3 separate regions of the Homo sapiens genome follow, and all the other regions are linked to region 2. Evidence: promoter capture Hi-C in human tissues and cell types (Jung and others, 2019). All regions are on one chromosome and are shown on one strand. Each heading gives the region's core, a stretch centred on a gene start or on the middle of the fragment in contact. The rest is flanking DNA. Distances are from core to core; before and after follow the strand shown.

The links. Contacts are between HindIII fragments. The study calls those that stand out against the background at their distance.
Region 1: a fragment that was not itself captured here is called in contact with the fragment with the promoter of ABI2 in region 2 in 1 of the 25 tissues and cell types used here (spleen).
Region 3: a fragment that was not itself captured here is called in contact with the fragment with the promoter of ABI2 in region 2 in 1 of the 25 tissues and cell types used here (neural progenitor cells).

What each region holds. Positions count from the first base shown.
Region 1 is chr2:202,567,116-202,570,393 of GRCh38, forward strand. BMPR2 (bone morphogenetic protein receptor type 2) reads left to right here. Exons shown (of 13, transcript NM_001204.7): 13 at 1-634. Among named protein-coding and RNA genes, the nearest start is that of FAM117B, 66 kb to the right of the region's middle. The HindIII fragment of the contact is 4,279 bases long and covers 1-3,278 here.
Region 2 is chr2:203,327,042-203,330,712 of GRCh38, forward strand. It overlaps ABI2 (abl interactor 2), which reads left to right and starts at 1,353. Exons shown (of 12, transcript NM_001375670.1): 1 at 1,353-1,590. The coding sequence starts at 1,474. RefSeq lists an enhancer at 240-1,210 and silencers at 1,012-1,351, 1,108-1,295, 1,572-1,921. The HindIII fragment of the contact is 25,150 bases long and covers 1-3,671 here.
Region 3 is chr2:202,584,926-202,588,530 of GRCh38, forward strand. No RefSeq gene overlaps it. Among named protein-coding and RNA genes, the nearest start is that of FAM117B, 48 kb to the right of the region's middle. The HindIII fragment of the contact is 6,678 bases long and covers 1-3,605 here.

The DNA of each region.
Region 1 (3,278 bases), core at 50-2,549, 760 kb before region 2:
TCATCCTCAGTTTTTTGCTGATAATTTTTCAAATAAAGATACATGGATAATTGTAAAATACACTAACTCTTAGGGTGTTGTAGTAGCTGAAACATGGAGATGCGTAGCTGTCATGCTTTTTCTGAATGGACAGGAGAAACATAAGCTACGGAGTATTCACTTCTGAGGATGCTTTTCCGGAAAAAGAAAGGCTAGAAAATACTCGCACTTCCTCAGAACCCTCTTTCTTGTTAACGGGTATCTTTTGTTGGTGTGTTTTGCTCTTACATTACAGATAGACTATCATATATGACTTTATGAATAATTTCAGTTATTTTGCTTTTGTATAAGCTGTCTGAAGCCTTGCTATGCTGTATAAGTTGTGTTTGATGGATCAGTGTGAGTATAAAATAAAGCAAATCACTTTTCTTTTGTATTATCTATGGATGCCACTATGAAAGCTGACATTAAGCCACTAAAGAGTTTTCTATGAATAAGTGTAAGTAAATGCTTTGATATATATAAACCTAAATAAAAAGATTGTATTGATACAGAGACATTGGAGAAGGAGATTTTAAGGCAGTTCTTTAGGTTTAAAAAGGCTTGCTGTAAAATGGTGCGTTATTCCGTTTATTAAAGATCATATTAATGACAATAGTAATTGTGTTTTTTTATTTTAAGAGGTCACCAGAAATTGTTAGTATGATAATTAGGGAGTTTGCACTAGAATAGTAAATGTTCTATCTAATATGACTTTCATAACTCAGTATGATACATCAAAAAATAAAAAATAAAAAAAAATAAATAGGCCGGGCGTGGTGGCTCACGCCTGTAATCCCAGCACTTTGGGAGGCCGAGGTGGGTGGATCACGAGGTCAGGAGATCGAGACCATCCTGGCTAGCACGGTGAAACCCCGTCTCTACTAAAAATACAAAAAATTAGCCGGGCGCGGTGGCGGGCGCCTGTAGTCCCAGCTACTCGGGAGGCTGAGGCAGGAGAATGGCGTGAACCCGGGAGGCGGAGCTTGCAGTGAGCCGAGATCGCGCCACTGCACTCCAGCCTGGGCGACAGAGCGAGACTACGTCTCAAAAAAAAAAAAAACTAAATTTAGTATAATAGTTGCTATTTTCTGACCATGTATTATATGCCAGGCACTGTGTTAGTTATTTTACATACATTGTTGATAATTCTCACAACAATCCTACATAATATGTATTACTATCCCCCTTTTATAAATGAAGAAACTGAAAGAGAAATTAAATACTCTGCCCAGTCACAGAACTGGCAAGTGAGATTGTAACGCATTTTACGTTTTGCTTTGAACTGCAATTTTCAAGCTCTCCTTGTGGCAAGAGAAACTCAAAAATAAAAATAAAACTGGCCGGGCGTGGTGGCTCACGCCTATAATCCCAGCACTTTGGGAGGCCGAGGCAGGTGGATAACGTGAGGTCAGGAGTTCGAGACCAGCTTGACCAACATGGAGAAACCCCGTCTCTACTAAAAATACAAAATTAGCTGGGTGTGGTGGTGCATGCCTGTAATCCCAGCTACTCGGGAGGCTGAGGCAGAAGGAGAATCGCTTGAATCCGGGAAGCAGAGGTTGTGGTGAGCTGATATCGCACCATTGCACTCCAGCCTGGGCAACAAGAGTGAAACTCCGTCTAAAAAATAAACAAATAATAAAAACAGTTCAGTAGTTAGAGTAACCAGGAATATTCATGGAGTAATTTAAAGGTGCAGAAAGCTATCAGGTACCAAAACAGCTATTTTTATTGGCCTAATATTGTGTTTGTGCTTCACATCATCAAATAATCTTTTGGGTTGGATCTAGTATTTTAAATAGAAGGCCTTGTTAAAGCAGAATATGAGTTTGTGAAGGCACACATTGTTTGTCTCCAGATTAATTCAATGTGTTAGCGAAGTGTCCTGGAGCAGGATCTCGTGTCAATCCATGGGACAACTATCCTTAAAAGGGTGCTGGGCCACTTTTACCTATATGCCTAGGGAACTTTTGCTTGTGGAAAACATGACCTACTCCCATAGGCTGTTGTCACCTTAAATAATACTTTATTTTAGGGATGGAAGAGATTTGGGGTATCCTTTTCATTTGGACTCATATGCATATGCGTAACCTTACAATCTGGTATGTTACAGGATACCATTGCAGTTTTCTACCGAGCCCACTATGTAATATTCAAAATTATACCTGAATGTCCTTAGAGAAAATGTGATAACCTGGGAAAAATGTGTAATAATAACCTGCTGAACCTTTTAATAATGACTTGCCACAAGTAAAATATTCTCATTTACACCTATACCTATCTAATCTACCTGGTTTACATCCTTCTCTGCGAAACAGCTAGTAAACTAGTGATTAATCTTCCTCTTTATTCTACAACATCTTTCAGACCAAAGGCCAAATTTTATATTTTAGCAGGTTTCATTTTATTGATATATTATTACTCACTTTTTCAAAATTGAATCATTGCTGTACTGAGAAATACCAAAAAGTATAATATGATCCCTGCCTTCCCTTACCCAACAATTTCCTGGGTTGGCCTTGTCTCCTCCATGCCTATCCAGGAAATTGTTGCATTCAAGTAAGATGACATGTAAGGGCCCAAGTAAGTGGTAAATTACATGCTCAATATGTGTTTGAAGAGCCAAAGAAGACTTCAGTTGAGGAAATGATGTTGAACAGGGTCTCGAAAAGATGTATGAGACATCAATAGAAAAAGTGAAGAGAGGCAGGGCACGGTGGCTCACGCCTGTAATTCCAGCACTTTGGGAGGCCAAGGTAGGTGGATCAGGAGGTCAGGAGTTTGAGACCAGCCTGACCAACATGGTGAAACCCTATCTCTACTAAAAGTACAAAAATTAGTCAGGCATGGTGGCACGTGCCTGTAATCCCAGCTACTCAGGAGGCTGAGGCAGGAGAATCGCTTGAACCTGGGAGGTGGAGATTGCAGTGAGCCAAGATGGTGCCATTGCACTCCAGCCTGGGCAACAGAACGAGACTCCATCTCAAAAAAAAAAAAAAAAAAAGAAAGAAAAGAAAATAAAAGAAAAAAAAAAGTGAAGACAATATTTGAAGTGACCAGAAGTAAGGGAGGACATGGACTGGAAATAAAACAGACAAAGTGGATCCAAACAGATAGTATAATTTTTGAAAGCCAGATCCAAGTGTTTGGGCTGCTGTCATAGACAGTAGGGAGAACAAAGTTTCTGAGGAAGGAAGAAGCTTGATAGAAGCAATGTGACGAGGTTTGGACTGACAAGTATGCAGGATAGATTAGAA
Region 2 (3,671 bases), core at 103-2,602:
TCGTGATCCGCCCGCCTCGGCCTCCCAAAGTGCTGGGATTACAGGCGTGAACCACCGCGCCCGTCCTAAAGTGATTTTTTTTTGAAAGTATAAGTTTCCTCATCATCTGAATGAAAAAAATTCACTGTAGGAGGGCCAAGAGATCACCAGATTAAGAAAAGTGTTGAAACAATGGATCTTGTTCTAACTACACAAGTCTAAGATGGTACTGCCTGGAATCAACTTTGATTTTCCACAGCACAAATAAAGGTCATGGCTTCATATCTCAGCAATGGTCAGGAGTTTTAGTTTTTCCAGATTACATTGTGTGGGGTAGTCTGATTTAGGAAAACAAGACACAGTATCTGGAGAATAAAAACAGAATTATAACTCTGCAAGAGGAAAATTATCTGCCTTGAATTTTTGTAGCACTTAATGTTTTTTCAAGGTATTTTCACAATAAACGTTGATTTTATCTATGTAACAGCCCTGTGAAGAAGGCAATTACTACTAGCAAAATCGTTTTCAAAATTTTAAATACTGAATCCATGAATAGGAAAAAGGACAGCGAAGTTGATAGCATTAGAGAAATGACAGAAAAGGTTATGAGTGAGGAAGCGAATCATAGAAATGGCAAACATAAAAAGCTGAGGCCCACGGCACCGCAAACCAGGAGAGAAAGGGGCTAATCTGGCAGGGGAGAACAGCGTTAGTGGGGAAGTGCAAAGAGGCAGGGGCGCAGGAAAGCTGGGGTTAGGAAACTGCAATTCACTGCAACAAAGAGGATGAGGTCAAATCTGAGAAAAATGAAGTCAGGTGGCATTGAAAGCTGCGTGGAAGTTTTATTCCTGCCCTGTTGAGGTGTGATCTTTCACAGAGGAGGGTCCCAAGAGTGGAGGCTGTGCCCTCCTTCGGCCTCCCGTCAGCAGCAGAGGGAGAAAAGCCTCGAGAAGTTCCCTAGGCCGATGACCTCCATGGGGACGGAGCCGAGATGAGTCCCGGAGGGAGCCGGCAGGAAGCCAGCTGAGCAGGGTGGTGTGTTCCCGCCGGGCTAACAAAGGCCGCCGGGAGGTGGGGGCTTCTCCAGCCGCTCCAGCGGCGGGCGGGCGGCGGAAGGGTTAACTGCACCACCAACTCCCGCGCGCATCCCGGCCCCTACCCCCGCCGTCGCTAGGAGACGCCGGAAGTGGGGGAGGGGCCGGCGGCGCGGGCGAGGGTGGGAATCTTTTTCGGGCTCCCGGGGGCGGAGGGAAGGGAGCGCGCGTGCGCGCGCCCGGCCGGCCGTCGCCGCGGTGACCGTCCTCGGAGTCCGTCGGCTCGCGCCCCGCCCCCGTCGCCCCCTCCCCTGTCGCGCGCTGGGGCTGTTTCTCGCTCCTTCCGAGTTACCGCCGCCGTCGCCGCCGCTCCTCCTCTCCCGGTCCTGGGTTTCCTTGGCGCTGCGGCCGCCGCTCCCTCTGCGACCTGTATGAGGAGGAGGAGGAGGAGGATGTGAAGATGGCGGAGCTGCAGATGCTGCTGGAAGAGGAAATCCCGGGGGGCCGCCGGGCCCTCTTCGACAGCTACACAAATCTGGAACGGGTGGCCGATTACTGCGAGAACAACTACATACAGGTGCGAAGCATCCCCAGCTGGGCCGCGTCGGGGACCCCCCCGCCGGGGGCCGCGCGCCTCGGGGCGTGGGGCCGAGGCCGCCTCGGGGACACGGCCCAGCGGAGCCCCCGATGGGGGTGGGGAGCTGGGTGAGGGCTGGGGCTGGTGAATGGGTGGGAATTCTCCGGCTGGAGAAACTGCATTTTAAAAACCTTTAAAAAAGCGGTGAAGCAGTTCTCGGCGTGGTGCGTGTGTCGCGTCCCGCCTCCTCGCCGCTCCCGCCCTCGGCCGCCCCCGCACTCCGCGCCGGTCAGCGTTCCGGATGGCGGAGGGGGCGGAGAGTGGCATTTTCTGTTTGACGGAATCCTGCTCCCCACCTTAGGGTAGGGGTGTCGCGGGTGTTGACGGGTTACCTCCATCCCCCAAATTCTGGATGATTTTTAAGGGGTTATCTTGCTGCAGAGTGAAGTGCTTCAGGCTTCAGTTTTCTGTTCCTGTGAATGCTTCAGAAACCCTTTCTTAATATTTTATGTTCTAAAGGGGATACGGTAGAAGAGCAGCAGTTTCTTGTTGGAAGTTAATGCCATTTTTTTCCCTATGGAGAAGGATGATGAGCTGATTCCCCCCTCCCTCCTAGTTCTGTTAGAATAGGCAGTTTTCCTGGGGGTGGGAGGAGGACAGACTATGACTGTTTCTTAGAGAGAATTGGGAAGATGAACCTCCTGGTTTAATTTTTTTTTTTTTTTTTTTTTTTTACCGTGATGGATCGTTTGGCTCAAGGGCTGATAGTGGTAGGGGCGTGTGTATGGAGGCGGGGGATACCGGATGGTATGAGATCCAGCTGCTCCTGGATGAAGCAAAATATTCTGTGGATTAAAAAAATCCTTCTTTAAAAATTACTTGAAAGGATAGCAGGTTAAAAGGCACAGTTTGCAAAATCTAAAATCTTTTGCTTTTTTTTTTATGGTTATTTTGAATTATGGGTTCTGCCTCCATTTTTTTTCTTTCCCGTTTAAATTCTCTTGGGATAAAGATGGAAATGGAAGCAATATGTTAAACTGTTTCTTCACAGTCTTTTTTTTTTTCCTTTTTTCTTGCTCCCACCTCCATCTCTCCAGGGATCCTTCTTTTTTCTTTTCTTTTTGAGACACAACCTCGTTCTGTAGTCCAGGTTGGAGTGCAGTGGCGCGATCTCGGCTCACTGAAACCTCGGCCTCCTAGGTTTGAGCAATTCTCATGCTTCAGCTTCCCGAGTAGCTGGGACTACAGGCGCCCGCCACCACAGCCGGCTAATTTTTGTATTTTTAGTAAAGATGGGGTTTCACCATGTTGACCAGACTGGTCTCGAACTCCTGACTTCAAGTCATCCACCCACCTCGGCCTCCCAAAGTGCTGGGATTATAGGCGTGAGGCACCTTTCTTAACATTAGCTATATAGGAAAGCATTTTCATGTCTTAGTGTAAATTTTAAAAAACAGGTGTTACAATTTTATAGGTTCATAAATTTTGTAATGGCCACATTGTTGATCGCGGAAGTGAGATTTTGTTTGATTAGACATACTGTTATCTTGTAGACAACATTTGTATTTGAGAATGACCCGAACCACTGTATAAACCTGTTCCTTCGAAAGAGGCAGTTGACTATGGCTACTAGGAAAGGAATGTAGGCAAGATTAATACAAAAAAATACAAATGTCCACTTGTAATGTACTTTGCTGATACAAGTGGGGTAGAAAAGATTCAGAGGTTCAGGCCTGGGCGATAAGAGTGAGACTACATATCAAAAAAAAAAAAAAAAAAAGATTCACTTGCTCAATTTTTCGCTAAAATTGAAAGTCTTTTATGGCCTAGAACTGTGTGAGGGGTGGATGGTACATACCTAGTAGGAGAGGCTGATCTTGGAGGAAATTAATACCATGTAGTTAATTTATACTCTGTAGTGCACTGCTGGTACCAAGGAGGACTGGAGGAAGCAATGCTGTTCTGAGGGATTTCACAATCTCTAGTAGAGGCAAAACCTAAAGGAATGAAGTGGTAATTCCATTGCCTTGTGCAGCATATTATGGGGAAAGAGTTGCAGGTCAGAAGAGAAACTGAGGGTG
Region 3 (3,605 bases), core at 478-2,977, 740 kb before region 2:
CTGTGATATTATTCATAATATCCTAAGGGAATGTTACTCGTAATGTCACAGGTGCTGCACACCTTATGATATTATTCATAATATCATAGGGGGATATTACTCCTAATATCACAAGGAGTGTACACCCTGTGATATTACTCCTAATATCACAGAGGGATGTTACTCCTAATGTCACAGAGGGTGTACACCCTGTGATATTCTTCCTAATATCCTAGGGGGTTGTTAATTCTAATGTCAGAGAAGGTGCACACCCTGTGATGTTATTTGTAATATCCTAGGGGAATGTTACTCTTAATGTCACAGGGGAAATACTCCATGTGTGTACACCCCCTGTGATATTATTTGTAATATCCTAGTGGAATGTTACTTTTAATGTTACAGGGAGTGTACACCATGTGTGTATACCTCCTATGATAATATTCATAATATCCTAAGGGGATATTACTCCTAATGTAACTTAAGGTGTACACCATATGTGTACACACCCTGTAATATTATTCATAACATCCTTGGGGATGTTACTACTAATGTAACTTAAGATATGTACTATGTGTGTACACCTCCGTGTTATGTTATTCATAAAAACCTCTGGGGATTTTACCTTTAATGTCTCACGAGTTGTATAATGTGTTTACAACCCTTGTGATATTATTCGTAATATGCTAGGGGATATTATCCCTAATATTTTGGTGGATGTCACTCCTATGAAACGGGTTGTACACCATGTGTGTACACCACAGGGGGTGATATCATTCCTAATATCCTACAGGGATGTTAACTCGTAATGTCACGGGGCGTGTACACCATGTGTGTACAAGCCCTGTGATATTATTCATAACATCCTAGGAAGATGTTAATCTTAATGTAACTTAAGGTGTACAACATGTGCGTACACCACCTGTGACATTATTCCTAACATTTTAAAGGGACGCTACTTCTTTTTTTTTTTTTTTTTTTTTTTTTGAGACGGAGTCTCGCTTCGTCGTCCAGGCTGGAGTGCAGTGGCACGATGTCGGCTCACTGCAAGCTCCGCCTCCTTGGTTCACACCGTTCTCCTTCCTCAGCCTCCCAAGTAGCTGGGACTACAGGCACCTGCCACCATGCCTGGCTAATTTTTTTTCTGTATTTTTAGTAGAGACAGGGTTTCACCATGTTAGTCAGGATGGTCTCAATCTCCTGACCTTGTGATCCGCCCGCCTTGGCCTCCCAAAGGGGATGTTACTTCTAATGTCACAGGGATTGTATACCATGTGTGTACATGCCCTGTGATATTATTCGTAATATGCTAGGAAGATGTTTCTCTTACTGTCACAGGAGGTTTACACATATGGTACCATCTATGTACACCCCCTGTGATACTGTTTGTAATATCCTAGGTGGATGTTACTTCTAATGTCACAGGGTGTGTACACCGTGTGTGTACACCACCTGTCATATTATTTGTCATATTCTAGTGAGATGTTACTCCTAATATCACAGGAGGTGTACACCATGTGGGTACATGCCCTGTGATATTATTCGTAATATTCTAGAGGGATGTTACCCCTAATGTCACAGGGGATGTGTACACTCCTTGTGATATTATGCATACTATTCTAGGGGAATGTTATTTCTAATGTCACAGGGGATGTCCACCGTGTGTGCACACCCTTGTGATATTATTTGTAATATCTTAAAGTGATGTTACTTCTAATGTCACAGGAGTGACATCCCCATAGAATATTACGAATAGCACTGGCGGTTTACACACATGGGGTACACACCCTGTGACCTTATAAGTAACATCTCCCTAGGGTATTACAAAGAATATCACAGAAGGTGTACACACATGGTGTACAACTCCTGTGACATTAGAAGTAACATCCCCTTTGGGAGGCCAAGGAGGGCGGATCACAAGGTCAGGAGATTGAGACCCCCTGTCATATTATTCATAACATCCTAGGGGGATGTTATTCCTTTTTTTATTTTTTTATTTTTTGACGGAGTTTTGCTCTTCCACCCAGGCTGGAGTGCAGTGGCGCGATCTCAGCTCACTGCAACCTCTGCCTTCCGGTTTCAAGTAATTCTCTTGCCTCAGCCTCCCAGGGGGATGTTATTCCTAATGTCACAGGGTATGTCCATCATGTGTGCACACCCCCTATGATATTATTTGTAATATCCTAAAGTGATGTTACTTCTAATGTCACAGGGGGTGTACCCCATGTGGGTAAACCACCAGTGATATTATTTGTAATATCCTAGGGAAATGTTACTGCTCATTTCACAGTGGGTTACACGATGTGTGTACAACCTGTGATATTATTTGTAATATTTTAGGGGGATGTTACACCTAATGTCACAGTGGGTGTACGCCGTGTGTGTACACCCTGTGATATTAATCGTAATATTCTAGGAGGATGTTATTTCTAATGTCACAGTGAGTGTACACCATGTGTGTACACCCTGTGATATTAATCGTAATATTCTAGCGGGATGTTAGTTCTAATGTGATGGTGGGTGTACACACATTGGCCAGGCGCAGTGGCTCACGGCTGTTATCCCAGCACTTTGGGAGGCCAAGGCAGGTGGATACAAGGTCAGGCATTTGAGACCAGCCTGGCCAACATAGTGAACCTCCGTCTCTACTAAAAATACAAAAAAAAAAAAAAAAAAAAAAAAAAAGCCAGGCTGGTGGCGGGAGCCTGTTGTCCCAGCTACTCGGGAGGCTAAGGCAGGAGAATCACTTCAACCTGGGAGGTGGAGGTTGCAGTGAGCCCTGATTGGGCCACTGCACTGCAACCCAGGCGACAGTGTGAGACTCCATCTCAAAAAAAAAATCCAAAAATTAGCCAGGTGTGGTGGTGCATGCCTATAATCCCAGCTATTTAGGAGGCTGAGGTATGAGAATGGCTTGAACCCAGGATGTGGAGATTGCAGTGAGCCGAGATTATGCCATTGCACTCCAACCTGTGTGACAGAGTGAGACTCCATCTCAAAAAAAAAAACAAACAAAAGATTTTTACTTTTTCTTATTCTCTCTTAGGAATACCTATGATTTATAGGATTGGCCACTTTACATATTCCCATATTTCTTGAAGGCTTTGCTCATTTTTAAAAATTCTTTTTTCTTTATTTTTGTCTGACTGGGTTAAATTAAAAGACCTGTCTTCTTCTGCTAAATTTCTTTCTTCTGCTTGGTCTAGTCTATTTCTAAGTCTTTCAACTGTGTTTTGTAATTCCTATAATACATTTTTCATTTGCAGAAGTTCTGTTTTTTTAAAATATCTATCTTTTTAGTAAATTTTCTTCTTTTTTGTAAATTTTTCATTCATATCCTGTATTGTTTCTCTAATTTTTTCATGTTGTTTTTTTCACCTTTTCTTGGATCTCATTGAACTTCCTTACAATATATATTTTGAAAATTCTTTGTCTGTAATTTCAGAATTTTCATTTTGGTTAGTATCTTTTGCTGGAGAGCTAATGTAATCTTTTTAGGTTGTTGAAATACTCTGTTTTCTCATACTGTCAGACTTCTTACATTGGTTCTTTCTCATCTGGAGAATCTCTCACTACTTGTTTTTGAATTTACTTTTCATTGCATGGGACTTTTAAAAGAATTATCCCCT